2 separate regions of the Homo sapiens genome follow, and region 1 is linked to region 2. Evidence: promoter capture Hi-C in human tissues and cell types (Jung and others, 2019). All regions are on one chromosome and are shown on one strand. The core of a region is centred on a gene start or on the middle of the fragment in contact, and the rest is flanking DNA. Distances in the headings are between cores, read along the strand shown.

The links. The method cuts DNA at HindIII sites, captures the fragments that hold promoters and counts their contacts. A contact is called where the count stands out against the background at its distance.
Region 1: a fragment that was not itself captured here is called in contact with the fragment with the promoter of EFCC1 in region 2 in 2 of the 25 tissues and cell types used here (IMR-90 fibroblasts and liver).

What each region holds. Positions count from the first base shown.
Region 1 is chr3:129,200,447-129,207,575 of GRCh38, reverse strand. No RefSeq gene overlaps it. Among named protein-coding and RNA genes, the nearest start is that of CNBP, 20 kb to the right of the region's middle. The HindIII fragment of the contact is 6,057 bases long and covers 2,303-7,129 here.
Region 2 is chr3:128,997,802-129,005,067 of GRCh38, reverse strand. It overlaps EFCC1 (EF-hand and coiled-coil domain containing 1), which reads right to left and starts at 3,764. Exons shown (of 8, transcript NM_001377500.1): 1 at 2,744-3,764; 2 at 991-1,274. The coding sequence starts at 3,439. It also overlaps a transcript of CFAP92 not described here. The HindIII fragment of the contact is 14,506 bases long and covers 1-6,093 here.

The sequences.
Region 1 (7,129 bases), core at 4,082-6,581, 200 kb before region 2:
GCAGCCTCTGGAGACAGTGGCTGGCAGCCAGCGTGGACAGGCCTCTCAGGCTGCATCGTGCCTTTATGTCACTTTGGCACATTTGTTTGCAAAATCAGGGCTGACTTGTGTTGTTTTAATTTGAAGCGAAATGAAGGGATAAGAATTCAACTAGAGACTTAAAAAGGAAATAAATTCTGAGCATGAGCTACAACATGGGTGAACCTTGAGGACATCATGCTAAGTGAATAAGCCAGTCACAAAAGGAAAATACTGTATGGTTCTACTTACATGAGGGCCCTAGAGTAGTCAAATTCATAAAGACAGAAGGCAGAATGACAGTTGCTAGGGGGTGGGGGAAGGGAAAATGGGGAGTTAGTGTTTCATGGGGACAGAGTTTCAGTTGAGGAAGACAAAAAAGTTCTGAGATGGATGGTGGTGACGGTTGCCCAACAATGTGAATGTACTTAGTGCCACCGGACTCTTCACTTAAAGTGGTAAATTTTATGTTATGTGTATATATATATACACACACACACACACATATATATATATACGTATATATATGTATATGTATGTGTGTGTGTATATATATATATATATATATATATATATTTTTTTTTTTTTTTTTTGAGATGGAGTCTCACTCTGTCGCCCAGGCTGGAGTGCATTGGCGCCATCTCTGCTCACTGCAAGCTCCGCCTCGCGGGTTCACGCCATTCTCCTGCCTCAGCCTCTCCGAGTAGCTGGGACTACAGGTGCCTGCCACCACGCCCGGCTAATTTTTTTGTATTTTCAGTAGAGACGGGGTTTCACCTTGGTCTCGATCTCCTGACCTCGTGATCCGCCCACCTCAGCCTCCTAAAGTGCTGGGATTACAAGCGTGAGCCACCGCGCCCGGCCATTATGTATATTTTACCACAATAAAACATTCAGATAGAGAATCCACTCCAAAGCTGCAGAAGGCCTTGGCTTGTAAAACAGAAATCTGCTAGCCAAGCATGGTGGTATATACCTGTAGTCCTAGCCACTTGGGAAGCTGAGATGGGAGAATCGCTTGAACCCAAGAGTTCAAGGTTTCAGTGAGCTAGGATTGTGCCACTGCACTCCAGCCTGGGCAACAGAGGGAGACCCTGTCTCTAAAACAGCAACAACAAAAACAACCAGAAATCTGTTTAGTCTTCCTTTAATGAACACTGACCCTTTTAAAAAAATCAACTTAAAATGTAGTGAGGTGGGCAGGGCACAGTGGCTCACGTCTGTAATCCTAGCACTTAGGGAGGCTCAGGCTGGGGGATCACTTGAGGTTAGGAGTTTAAGACAAGCCTGGCCAACATGGTGAAACCCCTTCTTTACAAAAACACAAAAATTAGTTGGGCATGGTGGTACATGCCTGTAGTCCCAGCTACTCAGGAGGCTGAGGCAGGAGAATTGCTTGAACCCAGGAGGTGGAGGTTGCAGTGAGCTGAGATCATGCCACTGCACTCCAGCCTGGGCAACAAAGTGAGACTTGGTCTCAAAAAAAAAAAAAAAAAGTGGTGAGGTGGAGACTTAGAAATTAAAAAAAAAAAATCCTTCCAGATTAAAGTTCTAAGTCAGACTCGGTGTCAGATGCAGTGGGCGCAGGGGGTCAGTATCCAGGGCCATCATTCTGCCACGTACACAATGTGGCCAGGCTGATGACAGGCTCAGCCTGCCTTTGTACACTTGTCCCTTTCAATTTAACAAATGGCTGTAAGCACCTACTCTAGGCCAGCACTAGGGAGACAGAAAATACTTGTGACCCAGTCCTGTCCTAGGAGCAGCCATCCTGGTGGGGAAGCCCCCATGTGTTTCTGTAGAACCTTTCAGCCCAGTACATAGCATACCTGATGGAGTGGGGGCGGGGCTCTGCCAGGGCATCTCCTCCTGAGGGTGTGTGGGTCACTGCCTGCAAAGACTGTGACCCAAGGATGCGTGGTTCACCTGGGAGTTGGCAGGAACGGCAAGCACAAGAGTGGTCCAGGCAGAGTATGTGCAGGGCATGAAGGCAGGAAACTCCCAAAAACTCTCCACAGCCCATGTGGCTGCAGGGAGAGGCAAACCTAGACCACAGAGGCCCACATGGCTTTAGCGTGTCCTGGTGTCATAGAATACTCTGCTTGTATGGTAGGCTCTTGTCATTTGTAGGCTGAAGCAGTCTTAGTTTGGCCTGTTCTCTGGTGACCCTGAAGGTCCAGGACAGTGTTACTTGGTCATTCTGCTAAGGCATAGAGTTGGGCTTTTCTTGGCTGAGAGCGGGAGAACTTTGTTGTTGCCATTGTTTGCTTACCTCACTACGTGGCATTCTCCCGTTGGCAGTGTTTGTGTGTTTATGTTTTGGCAAAGCTCTCTCTAAACACAGCCCTGGTAAAGTAAACTCCATAAGGCTGGGCACAGTGGCTCACACCTATCATCCCAGCATTTTGGGAGGCCAAGGTGGGTGGATTGCTTGAAGCCAGGAGTTCGAGACCAGCCTGGGCAACATAGGGAGACCCTATCTTTACAAAAAATACAGAAATTAGCTGGGACTCACACCTGTGGTCCCAGCTACTGGGGAGGCTGAGGTGGGAGGATCATTTGAGCTTGGGAGGCAGAGGTTGCAGTGAGCCGAGATCATGCCACTGCACTCCAGTCTGGGCAACAGAGAGAGACCCTGTGTCAAAAACAACAACAACAACAACAACTCCATAAGCCAGATGATCCTCTGTGTCATCTGCAGTGCCTGGAACATGCCTGTCACACAGTAGGTTCTCAATAAATGTTTGCTGAGTGTACTTTTTTTTTTTGCAACCCTATTAACTGAAGAATGAATTATTGAATCATTTGCCAGAGTTCTACTGCATTTGGTTCTGTATTCTTCTCTATTGGAGTGTAGCCCGTGGGCAGGGACAGTGTCTCTTTAGTAGGAGCCAAGAATTAAATGAATCCTGTTAAATTACCATGTTACTTATAAGCAAATGCAGGTTCAGGGCTGATGCAGAAACAGAATTTTTGCTAATGTGATTTTGGCTATATGTTTTTTACATTCATTTACATACCAAAATTCGGGTAATATCTACTTTTTAATTCTAAATTTATTCAGTTATTTAGTTTATTTACTTAGTTTTTCTAAAGTTTCAACTAATTAAAATTTCCTAGCTTTATTTTATGATTTTGATCAGAATTTGTATATTATTCCTACCTATTCAAACTGTGTATAAAACCGTATAAAACAGCTTTTCACATGAAGAAATATGATGTCTATTTTAATGCCTCTTTTGTTTTTTGTATAATATAGGTACAGGGGGAATGAAACTAATAATTATTCAGTGGCCAGTAAATACTAGGCTTGAGCTGGGCACTTTTACATATGCAATCTCATTTCATTTAAGCCTCACAAAGTCATGTGAAGATGATCTATGTTTTGGAGACAAGAAAACTGAGCTCACAGAGGTTGAAGAACTTGCTCCAAGATAAAGTCCTGATTCAAACCCTGTTCTGACTGTTTTCAAAATGTATGTTTTTTTGGTATTTCTATAGCACTCAGTAATGGTTATTGGACTGTAAGCAACAGAAATTGTGCATTTAAGGTATGAGGACACTCTGGGCACAGTGGCTCCTGCCTGTAGTCCCAACTACTCAGGAGGCTGAGGCAGGAAGATTACCTGACTCCTGGAGTTTAGGGCTGTAGTGAGCCATGACTGTACCACTGCATTCCAGCCTGGGCAACAGAGCAAGATCCCATCTCTAAATAAATTAACAAAAATTTAAATATAAAGCAACTATTATCAATATGTTAAAGGTTACAACAGACATAATGAATGAAAAGATTAGTTATTGCTGGAGAGAAATGGAAACTTAAAAGTAGCCAGGCTGGGCATGGTGGCTCACACCTATAATCCCAGCAGTTTGGGAGGTCAACATAGGAGGATCACTTGAGGCCAGAAGTTCAAAACCAGCCTGGCCAACATGGTGAAACCCCATCTTTATTAATAATACAAAAATTAGCTGGGCATGGTGGCATGCACTTGTAATCCCAGCTACTTGGGAGGCTGAGGCAGGAGAATCACTTGACCCTGGGAGGTGAAGGTTGCAGTGAGCCAACATTGCGCCACCACACTCCAGCCTGGACGACAGAGTGAGACTCCATCTCAAAAAAAAAAAAAAAAGAAAGAAAAGAAATACCTGAGACTGGGTATTTTATTGAGAAAAGAGGTTTAATTTCTCACAGTTCTGTAGGCTGTACAAGCATGGCACCAGCATCTATCTTATCAGCTTCTGGGGAGGCCTCGGGGAGCTTTCACTCATGATGGAAGGTGAAGCAGGAGCAGGCACATCATCACATGGTGAAGGCAGGAGCAAGACAGTGTAGGGGGAAGGTGCCACACGCTTAAACAACCAATCTTATGATAACTCACTCACCATTGCAAGGACAGCACCAAGCCATGAGGGATCTGCCCCATGACCCAAACCCCTCCACCAGGCCCCACCTCCAACATTAGGGATTACATTTCAACATGAGATTTGAGTGGCGACAAATATCCAAACTATATATCATATGCCCTTAGGGAATTGCAAATTAAAACAAAAATGAGATACTATTACACATCTATTAGAATGGCCAAAATCTAAAACACTGACAATATCAAATGCTGACAAGGATGTTGAGCAACAGGAACTCTCATTCATTGCTCAGGGGAAGGGCAAATGGTACAGACACTTTGGAAGACAATTTGGCAGTTTCTTACAAAAATTAAATATACTCCTACCATATGAACCAGCAATTTGCTTTGTGGTTATTTAACCAAATGAACTGAAAATATGTCCACAAAAAACCTGCACACAGATGCTTATACCAGCTTTATTCATGATTGTCAAAACTTGGAAGCCACCAAGATGTCCTTCAGCAGGTGAATGGATAAACTGTAGTACATTCAGACAATGGAATAGCATTCAGCACTAAAAAATGAACTATCAAGACATGAAAAGACATGGAGGACCCATAAACGCGTATCACTAAGTGAAAGATGCCAATCTGAAAAGGCTACATACTGTGTGATTCCAAATACTGTACATAACAGTCTGGAAAAGCAAAAATACGGAGAAGTCCAGGTTGCCAAGGATTAGGAGAGAGTGATGAATAGGCAGAGCACAGAGATTTTGGGGGCAGTGACAACCACTCTGTATGATACTACAAAAGTGGATACATATCGTTATACTTTTGTCCAAACCCATATAATGTATGGCACCAAGAGTGAACCCTAATGTAAATTATGAACTTTTGGGGGTAATGATGAATCAGTGAAAGTTCATTGATTGTAACAAATCTATCACTCTAGTGGAGATGCTGATCCTTGTTTATGCATGTGTGGGGGCAGGGAATGAATGGGAACTCTGTACTTTCTGCTCAATTTTGCTATGAACTTAAAACTGCTCAAAACAATGTTCTGGGCTGGCCACCATGGCTCACACCTGTAATCTCAGCACTTTGGGAGGCCAAGGCACTTTGCATCACTTTACTCAGGAGTTTGAGACCAGCCTGAGCAACACAGTGAAACTTCATCTCTATCAAAATTTTTAAAAAACCCAATGTTCTGGAATTAGTGATAACAACTAATTTGATGTCATGGCACTATGAATGTACTAAAACCTACTGAATTGTACATTTTAAAAGGGTGGCTTTTATGGTATGTCAATTATATCTCAATAAAGCTGTTATTAAAAAGACACTATTTCACAAGATTATTGTGTGGATTAAACAAGATCATGTGGCATTTTGTATATGTCTGTTATAATACTTGGTAAATACTGTTTTGTAAATACTTGTTGCCTTCTACCCATAGACATTAACAGCTGCAGAGCCTGGCCTGGGCTGTCTTTTCAACTTTAGTTTTATTTTTATATTTTACTTTTTAGAGACAGGGTTTCACTCTGTTGTCCAGGCTGGAGTGCAGTGGCACGATCATGGGTCACTGCAGACTTGACCTGTTGGGCTCAAGCAATCCTCCTGCCTTGGCCTCCTAAGTAAGCTGGGAGTACAAGCACCCACACCACCACTGGCTAAGCTTTGTATCCTCAGTGTTTAGCTTAATACCTGGCATTTGGTGCTTAAGGAAGGAATTGCAGGTGAGAGACAAAGTAGAGAGAAGGACCACAGATGACTCCAAGGCTTCTAATCTGGACTAACAGATGAGTGGTGGCTGACACAGACTTTAAAATGATAAGCTGGTTTTGTTTGCTTGTTTGTATATTTGGTAAAGTACATTGTAGTTTAAATGAGTTGTATTTGAACAGTGTGTGGAAATGCCCGGTTTAATCTATCCAAATTTTAAGTAAAGATACAAGTCCCAAATTCAAAAAGGAGGTGAGGGCTGGGTGTGGTGGCTCACACCTGTAATCCCAGCACTTTGGGAGGCCAAAGCGGGTGGATTATCTGAGGTCAGGAGTTAGAAACCAGCCTGGCCAACATGGTGAAACCCCATCTCTACTAAAAAAAAAAAATACAAAATTAGCTGGGCGTGGTGGCACATGCCTGTAATCCCAGCTATTTGGGAGGCTGAGGCAGGAGAATTGCTTGATCCTGGGAGGCGGAGTTTGCAGTGACCCGAGATTGTGCCATTGCACTCCAGCCTGAGCAACAAGAGTGAAACTCCATCTTAAAACAAACAAACAAACAAAAAAAAAAAAACGAGAGAGAAAGACGTGAGGGGTAAAGCTTGAAAATGTGTCATCAGTCACCAGTGGTCTGTGGGCAAAATCCATCCTGCTAATGGGTTTCATTTGGCCAGAACAATCTTTTAAATAAGTTGCCAACAGTTGAAAATTAGAAGATTCTCAAAAATATCAAGAATTTTAACTTCTGCCAAAAGGTCAGATATCTGGCAACGCTAATCTCGTGTTCCCTAAAGGCAATGACCAGCTGCCCCGAAGTGAGCTTAGTTGGCTCCTTTCATCTTAGATGGGAGTTGAAGCGAAGATTCTGGAGAGCAAGGAGGGACACCGCAAAGGACAGATCCTTCAGAATCACCAGCAAGTGGCCGGGCACGGTGGCTCATGCCTGTAATCCCAGCACTTTGGGAGGCCGAGGCGGGCGGATCACTTGAGGTCAGGAGTTCGAGACCAGCCTGGCCAACATGGTGAAACCCTGCCT
Region 2 (7,266 bases), core at 2,515-5,014:
CAGGCAGGGGTGACTTGTGATTTGAAAGGGAGAGAGGCTCTGTCTACCAAGCATCTACCATGTGCCAGGCAGGACCTCATGGCCTCTTCACAGCCACTCCCACAGGCAGGGACCCCAATCTGTGTTCCACCCAAGAGGAAGCAGGGTCTGTGAGGGGTGGTGACTTGCCCACACTCACACGTCTGCCAAAAGCCCTGCCAAGATTTGAACCTGGGTCCCAAGTCCAGCTTCCTGCCCTGGTGGAGCTAGCACAGGCAGTCATTACACACCTGTTTCCTCATCTACAGAGTGGAAACATAGCAGTACCCACCTCACAGGGCAGCTGTGAGGCTTAAATGAGTTAAGCCACATAAAGTACTTAGCTCAAGGCCTGGCAAACAGCGAGTGCTTAGTAACTGTAAGCTATTATCATTATGATCGAATCCAGGAACAAATAAGAATGAGCACATTCAACTGCAATCTATGATAAACAAATAGAGGGTGTTTGTGGATGAACAGGAGGATGGATGGACGGCTGGCTGGCTGGGTGGGTGGGGGGATGGATGGATGATGGATGGGTGGGTGGGTGAGTGGATGGGTGGGTGAGTGAGTGGATGGATGAATAGATGGATGGACGGGTGGGTAGGTGAGTGGATAGGTGGATGGATGAATGGGTGAGTGGATGGATGGGTGAGTGGATGGATGGGTGGGTGGGGGGGGTGAGTGAATGGACAAATGGATGGATGGATGGGTGGGTGTGTGGGGTGGGTGAATGGATGGACAGATGGATGGATAAATGGATGGGTGGGCAGATGGTTGCAGAGCAAGCAATGGAGCAGACTTATAACTTAAGAAATGGAGAACTGACAAAGGAATGAAAGAATACATGAATAAACGCATGGAGAAACTGCGGAACACGAGAGCGCGTGGGAGGGGGATTGCACACCCGAAGTTTGGGAAAATGGGAGCCGAATTGGGGAACTTGGGCCCAGGGCACGCGCCCCCGCTCACCTGTAGCGTTGCAGCTCCGCCTCCAGCCGCCGCACCCAGCGCTGCAAGCCGGGCACCTGTTGCGCCAGCGCCTCCAGCTCTCGCACGCGGTGCAGGCTGCGCAGCACCACCTGCCGGGCCTCCTCCGCGCGCCGCCGCACCTCGGCCTGGCCACGGCGCAGCCGCCCAGCGCGGGCCTCCGCCGCAGCCAGGGCGCCCTGCGCCTGACGCAGCTCCCGCACCGCAGCCTCCGGCCCGCCGTGCCCCATCTCGTGGGTGCTCGCCTGGCTCTTCCAGAGTCCGACCTGCGGGGACAGGGCAGCAGGGGCAGGGGGTAAGTGCCCCAGCCAGATGCACCAGACGAACGCCCGCCACGACGGCGGCCCCATGCCTCTGCACCCAGAAGCGCTTGAGCACGTTTCTTGCGCCGTCTGCTTCCGGGTGCCAGGCCCTTAGGTCCGGTGCGTCCAAGCTCCTTTAACCCTCGCCACATCCCCAGGGAGGCCCAAGCTCTGATTCCTCCTCATCCCCCACCCCCCAACGTTTTTTCACTGAAGGAAACTGAGACACGACGCCTGTATTCTGTTCCCTCTATAGTACCAACCTCGCGACTCTTCTCGGCCTACTGTATTGGCGGCGTTCAGCCTGCCGGGTGGCGGTTCCTCATCTCCTAGACTCCCCCCAGTGGCATTTCCAGCCCTCCCCGTGCCTGCTCACTAGAGGCTTTTGAGGGTGGTTTCTATCTGTCTTTACTGGTGTGTTCCCAGAGCCTAAAACAAACCTGGCACATAGTAGGTGCTCAATAAATACCAAGCATGAGAGATGCCGGAAGACCGTTCAGGCGCATCCCATGGCTCCCAGTACGTTACTTGGGATTCCACATCAGAGGAGTAGTTTCCCGCCTCCACCCTGGCTTCCATGCACACTGACACTGAAAACCACACCTTGCCACTTCCCTGCACTCTGCAGTGTCCTGAGCTAAGGCGGGGTCATATAATGTCAGTTTCTTCCTGGCCTGTTGTCGCCTGGGGTAGGGGCTGTTCCTTTCCTCCTCTGACCCCTGCGGCCCAGCACTGCCCTTGGTGCTCGGCTGGCACAGTGCTTAAGTGTTTGTCGACGGCTCCCAGATGCTAAGGCTGGGTCCCTATCTCACCCCATGGTTTCTTCTCAATAGCCCAGAGCGGGTCTGGTTCCCGCAGGCACTTGGTGGCCCGTGAGTGCCTGATCCACAGTGTGAGCCACATTGTCTGTTTCTCACTTGTCTCTGTTTCTCCCACAGGGAGCCCCATAAGTCTTTGCTGATTGACAGAAGGAGCTGTCAGTCTACCCCAGGAGGCAGGGATATCCCTAAAGGTGAGGACAGGGCCTTCTTCACACTTCTGTCTCCTAAACCTCCCAGAAGCCTGGCAGGAAGGAGAGAGAAAGATGCTTGTTGAAAGGGAATATGTGAGACTACCCAGACAGGTGCAATTCCTAGGTTAAAGGGGCAAGACGCGATGATGTGGCGGTGGAGCAGAAAAGTGGGGTATGGTTGTTTGAGTGTGATTGGGGTTTTCAGGAATGGAATAGGTGGTAAGAATAGGGTTGGGGACTGGAGTGGAATGGGGAGGAACAGGGGCAAGATGCAAGTGTGCTGATGCGGAGTGGGATGGTGTGGGGCTGCCCTCTGTCTCCCCTTCCTCTGACTCTGTCCTGTCGGGCTCCGCAGCCAGCCAGCTTTTAGTTCGAGCCCTCTCCCGGGCGTTACCACCCTCCCTTCGTGGCCGGCGCGCACCTGCAGTGCTAGGCAGCGCGCATCACTGCTCTGCAGCGCGGCGCGCAGGTCCTCCACCAACTCGCGCAAGCTGCTATTCTCCTCCTCCAGCCGCGCAACGCGCTCACAGTCAGGACCGCTGTCGGGGCCAGGCGCGCAGGGCGGGCGGCGGCGGCGGCGCGGACGGCGCAGGCGGATCTGCGTCTCGATGTGCTCGCTGAGAGCGCCGCGGGGCAGCCGGGGCCCCGCACGGGTGCCGAAGTAGCCACAGAGGCGCGCGTGGAACTGGCGGAAGGTGAGCTCCGGCGGCTCGGCGCGCAGCGCCAGGCGCGCCTCTTCATCGGTATCTGAGTCCCCGTCCGTGGCCAACTCAGCGGCCGCATCCCCGGGGGTCACATCTCTGGAGTTCCCGTCACCTGCTGCCTGCCCGGCCGTGGTGGCCCCCTCCGCGCGCAGCCCCAGCACAGCGCAGAGCGCTCGGAAGTCGGCGCGGGGCAGACGGCCGGCGCCGCGGCAGTCCAGGTGGTGGAAGACCTCCTGCAGGTACTGGTCCAGGCCGGTGGCCAGCACCACGATCTCGTTCTCCACGCCGCGGTCCAGCCCGTAGTGGTGCGCCAGGGCGCTCAGCAGCCACTGCGTGCGCCGCGCAGGTCGCCGGTACGGGTCACCTCCCGCGCCCTCCATGCCGGCCTCCGCGCCCGTGCTGACCGGCTCCATCGCTGCGCCGCGCGCCTCGCTCCTCCGGTCCCTCCTCCGGTCCCTTCGCCCCGCCACTTCCAGGGGCGGCCCCAGAGTTTCTCGAAAGGAGGGGCTTAGCGGTCGCGGTCTGGTTGGAGCGGCGCCGGGGACCGTGTCCAGCAGCTGCGCTGGCCTCACAGTGCGTCTGGTTTACCCCAGTTGCTTTGGAGGGGCCTGGGGTAGGGGGTCCAGGAACCCCCGGGACCCCGGCAGCGCCACCAGTGCCCGGTCGGCGTCTGGGTCTGGCTTCTCCGCGTGACTCCCACGCTCTCCTCTCCTCACTCACGGGGCGTTCCTGGCGTCTGCGCTTTTCCTCCCACTCCCGGCCGTCCACTCTCAACTCCCTCCTCCCTCCGCCCCGCCCGCCTGGCGCGGAGAGTTCGCTCCGAGACCTGGGCGAGGGGTTGGCGCGGGATCCGAAGCCCAGGAGGGCCTTGGGGGTGGCGGCCTCGTCCGGTTGCTGGGGATGTGCCCCCACACCCAAGCGTCACTCTTCCCCCTCTTCCCGGAAGGCCTTTCGAGGGTTGCCTGGCAAGCCTGCTCTCGCCGCCCTGTAGCCGTAGGTGCGGAAAAGCCTCCCCTCCGCTTCAATTCAGCTACTGGGTTTCCGAACCCACTTCTTGTGCCACCATAGACCGTGCAAAGAGCCCCAAGTAGTAACTGGGAAAGAGAGGGAAACAGGCTTGGAGAGGCAAGGGGTCTAGGTTAGGGGCACCCCGCTGGTGAGAAGCCCATCTGAGACGAGCCCTGTGCTAACTGCTCTCTCCCGATCCCTGTTGGGGGTGGGGATAGGACTCTCGGGAAAGTGGTGTCTCCCGGCCCTGCCACCTTTGTGCCTGCCGGTGCTGACTTGGCAATGGGATCCGAGTTCCATCTCTTGAGCTGGGGTTAGGTTAACAGGTCGATGATTGGCTGATGTTTTTTTCTGGTGTTTTAGAACACATTTCTGGAAGATGAAGAAAAACCTGCTTCTCTGGTGAGTGCTAGACTGTGTTCCCTTTCTTTTTCACGAGAGGGGTGCAGTGATATTGTGATATTGTCCACCTGTTACCTGCACCGGGAACGGTTATCCAGCCACGGTACCCAGCCATGTTGGAGCAAGAGGCAGACTCTTCAGCTGTTCCTAGCTATGACAGAGACAGAATCTTGCCTTGTGGATAACTCTGTGAGTTTAAATGTAAAATCTTGCCGTTTGAAAAGCGATAGCATTCTGTCTCCTCTGCCACAGTATCCCAGAATCAGCACGTTGTCCATTTGGCAAATTCGTACTTGTTCTTGAAGGCTTTGCCCAGAGTACATATCTGCTGGGAAGGAGTTAGAGGCTTCTCCCCAAGCATTTTGGACATATTCTTTTAGGTTTGTTTTTAATTATAAAAGTAATGGCAATTTGACAAAGTTTTTACATCACGTCCACTTCTTGGCTTCTACCTTCGAAAGCCACTGTGCACAGGATGTTCACTGCATCATTGTTTATTACAGTGAGAAACTGGAGACAACCTGGTGTCCATCAAATCAGCTAGGACTCAGCAAACGAGGATGAGCGGACACAGCAAGCCACAAGCTGATTATGCACAACACTGATGCTTACATAACAAGAACAAAAACACACAAAACAATACTAAGTATTTTCTACTAGGACATGTGTATGTGAGTGCACAGAAGAAGATGGAGGGATTCATAAGTGGATTCAGTGGTTCTTTCTGCAGATGGGAGACACTGCAGTATTTCCCTTTTGTTAAGATGTTCTCATGTGTTTCTTTTTCTTGGCCGGTCGCGGTGGCTCACGCCTGTAATCCCACCACTTTGGGAGGCCGAGGCGGGTGGATTGCCTGAGGTCAAGAGTTCGAGAACAGCCTGGACAACATAGTGAACCACCCCCATCTCTACTAAAAATACCAAAAGTTAGCTGGGCGTGGTGGCAGGCGCCTGTAATCCCAGTTACTTGGGAGGCTGAGGCAGATGAATCGCTTGAACCTGGGAGGCGGAGGTTGCAGTAAGCTGAGATCCTGCCATTGCACTCCAGCCTGGGCGACAGAGCGAGACTCCGTCTCAAAAAAAAAAAAAAAAAAAAAAAAAGAACCTGATTTTATTTCATGTCAGCCCTAAGAGCTGGTAGCCCAGGCAAGAGTGCAACACCCTCCCCACCCCCCATCCCTGCAGCTGGTGAAGGAATCCTTTGAACAGTAGCTTTCCTGGGCCAGTCAATATTGAAAAGAAAGCTTTTAAATGTCTTGCTGGGAGCCGTTGCCGGCCTCCACTCCCCTACAGCTCAGGGAAGTAAGGGTTGATAATGGTTTGCTGTCAGGCCTGTCTGTCTGCCCTGCGGTGTTACCAGGCACCTCTGAAATAATTCTGGTTGCATCCACAAGGTTTTTGTTTAAGGTTCAAAGTGAGCAAACTCAGAGGTCTCCTTGCGTTCTTTTGTATGAGCTGGGGGGATGGGCGTGTGTCTGTGTGGGAGAGAGTCAGGGCTGTGGCAAAGAAATGATTTTCTGAAGTCAGTTCAGTATTGTTTGAGCCATTTCAAATAGTATATTGTTTAAAGTGTCTTTTAAAGGTCCGGGAAAATGCTAAAAAGCAAAAATCATCCACCATTCTGCCACCAAGAGAGGATCACTGTGTATTTCTGATGTATTTATTTCCAGACTTTTCTATGTATTTGGGCATGAAAGAACTTTTTGGAGTGATTGAAATACTCTATCTTCATGGTGTAGTGGTTGCATGACTGTGTACATCTGAATTTTACAGTGTGCAAATCGTAGCTCATTCAACTTGACATGAAAAGCACAGTGGAAAGGGCGCCATTGGGATCTTTCTTTGCACAGGAACTGAGCTTTGTAAACAGCTTGGCTGTGGTTTCTTTGCAGACACTGCTCCAGAGGCTGCTCTGTGCTCCCTGGGGATGAACTATAAGGTGCTTTGTCATCCCCCACAGATGCCCACTGAGGTGGTTTTCAGCTTTTCTCCGCAAAAACCATACTGTGAACAGTTTGTGCCATATCTTGAGTGATTTATTACTGGGCCAAGGAGTATACATATTTTATAAGCTTGTGGTATTATCAGCCTGTTTTTTGGAAACTTGTGTTGTTCTATCCAGAGCCCAGAACTGTCTGGGAATGTCCTTGGGCCATTATTTTCAGTGTCATAAAGCTTTTGGGTTTTTAGGGGTCTTGGTTAGTAGATTTGCTTAGTGTTCAGACACCAAGCTTTACTTCTATTAAAAATAGGCCTGTTGTTAGTCAAAGATTTCTTAGATACGACACCAAATGCATGATCCAAAAAAGAAAAAAATGATGAATCGGACCTTCATCAAAGTTCAAAACATTTGCACTTCAAAAGACACTATTAAGAAAATATGACGAACAAGAGACTAGGAGAAAATATTTGTAAAACATATGCCCAGTAAAGGACTTATATTCCGAATTTACAATGAACTCTTAACAACTCAGTAACAAGAAGACAAACAATCCAATCAAAAAGTGGGTGAAGATACAAACAGACATTTCACCAAAGAAGTTGTATAAATAGCCAACATGTGCATAAAACAATCTCAGTATTCTTGTTAGGGAAATGCACATGAAAACTATGATGAAATACTATATTATACTCATGAGAATAGCTGTAGTGAATAAAACAGGCAATAAATCTTGTCAAGAATTTGGAGAAACAGGAAACTTCATGTTGTTGATGGGAACACAAAATGATGCAGCCCCTGTGGAAGATAGTTTGGCAGTTTCTCAAGAAGTTAATCACAAAATGACCATACGACCCAACTCTTCCACTCCTAGATATCGACCCAAGAGAGA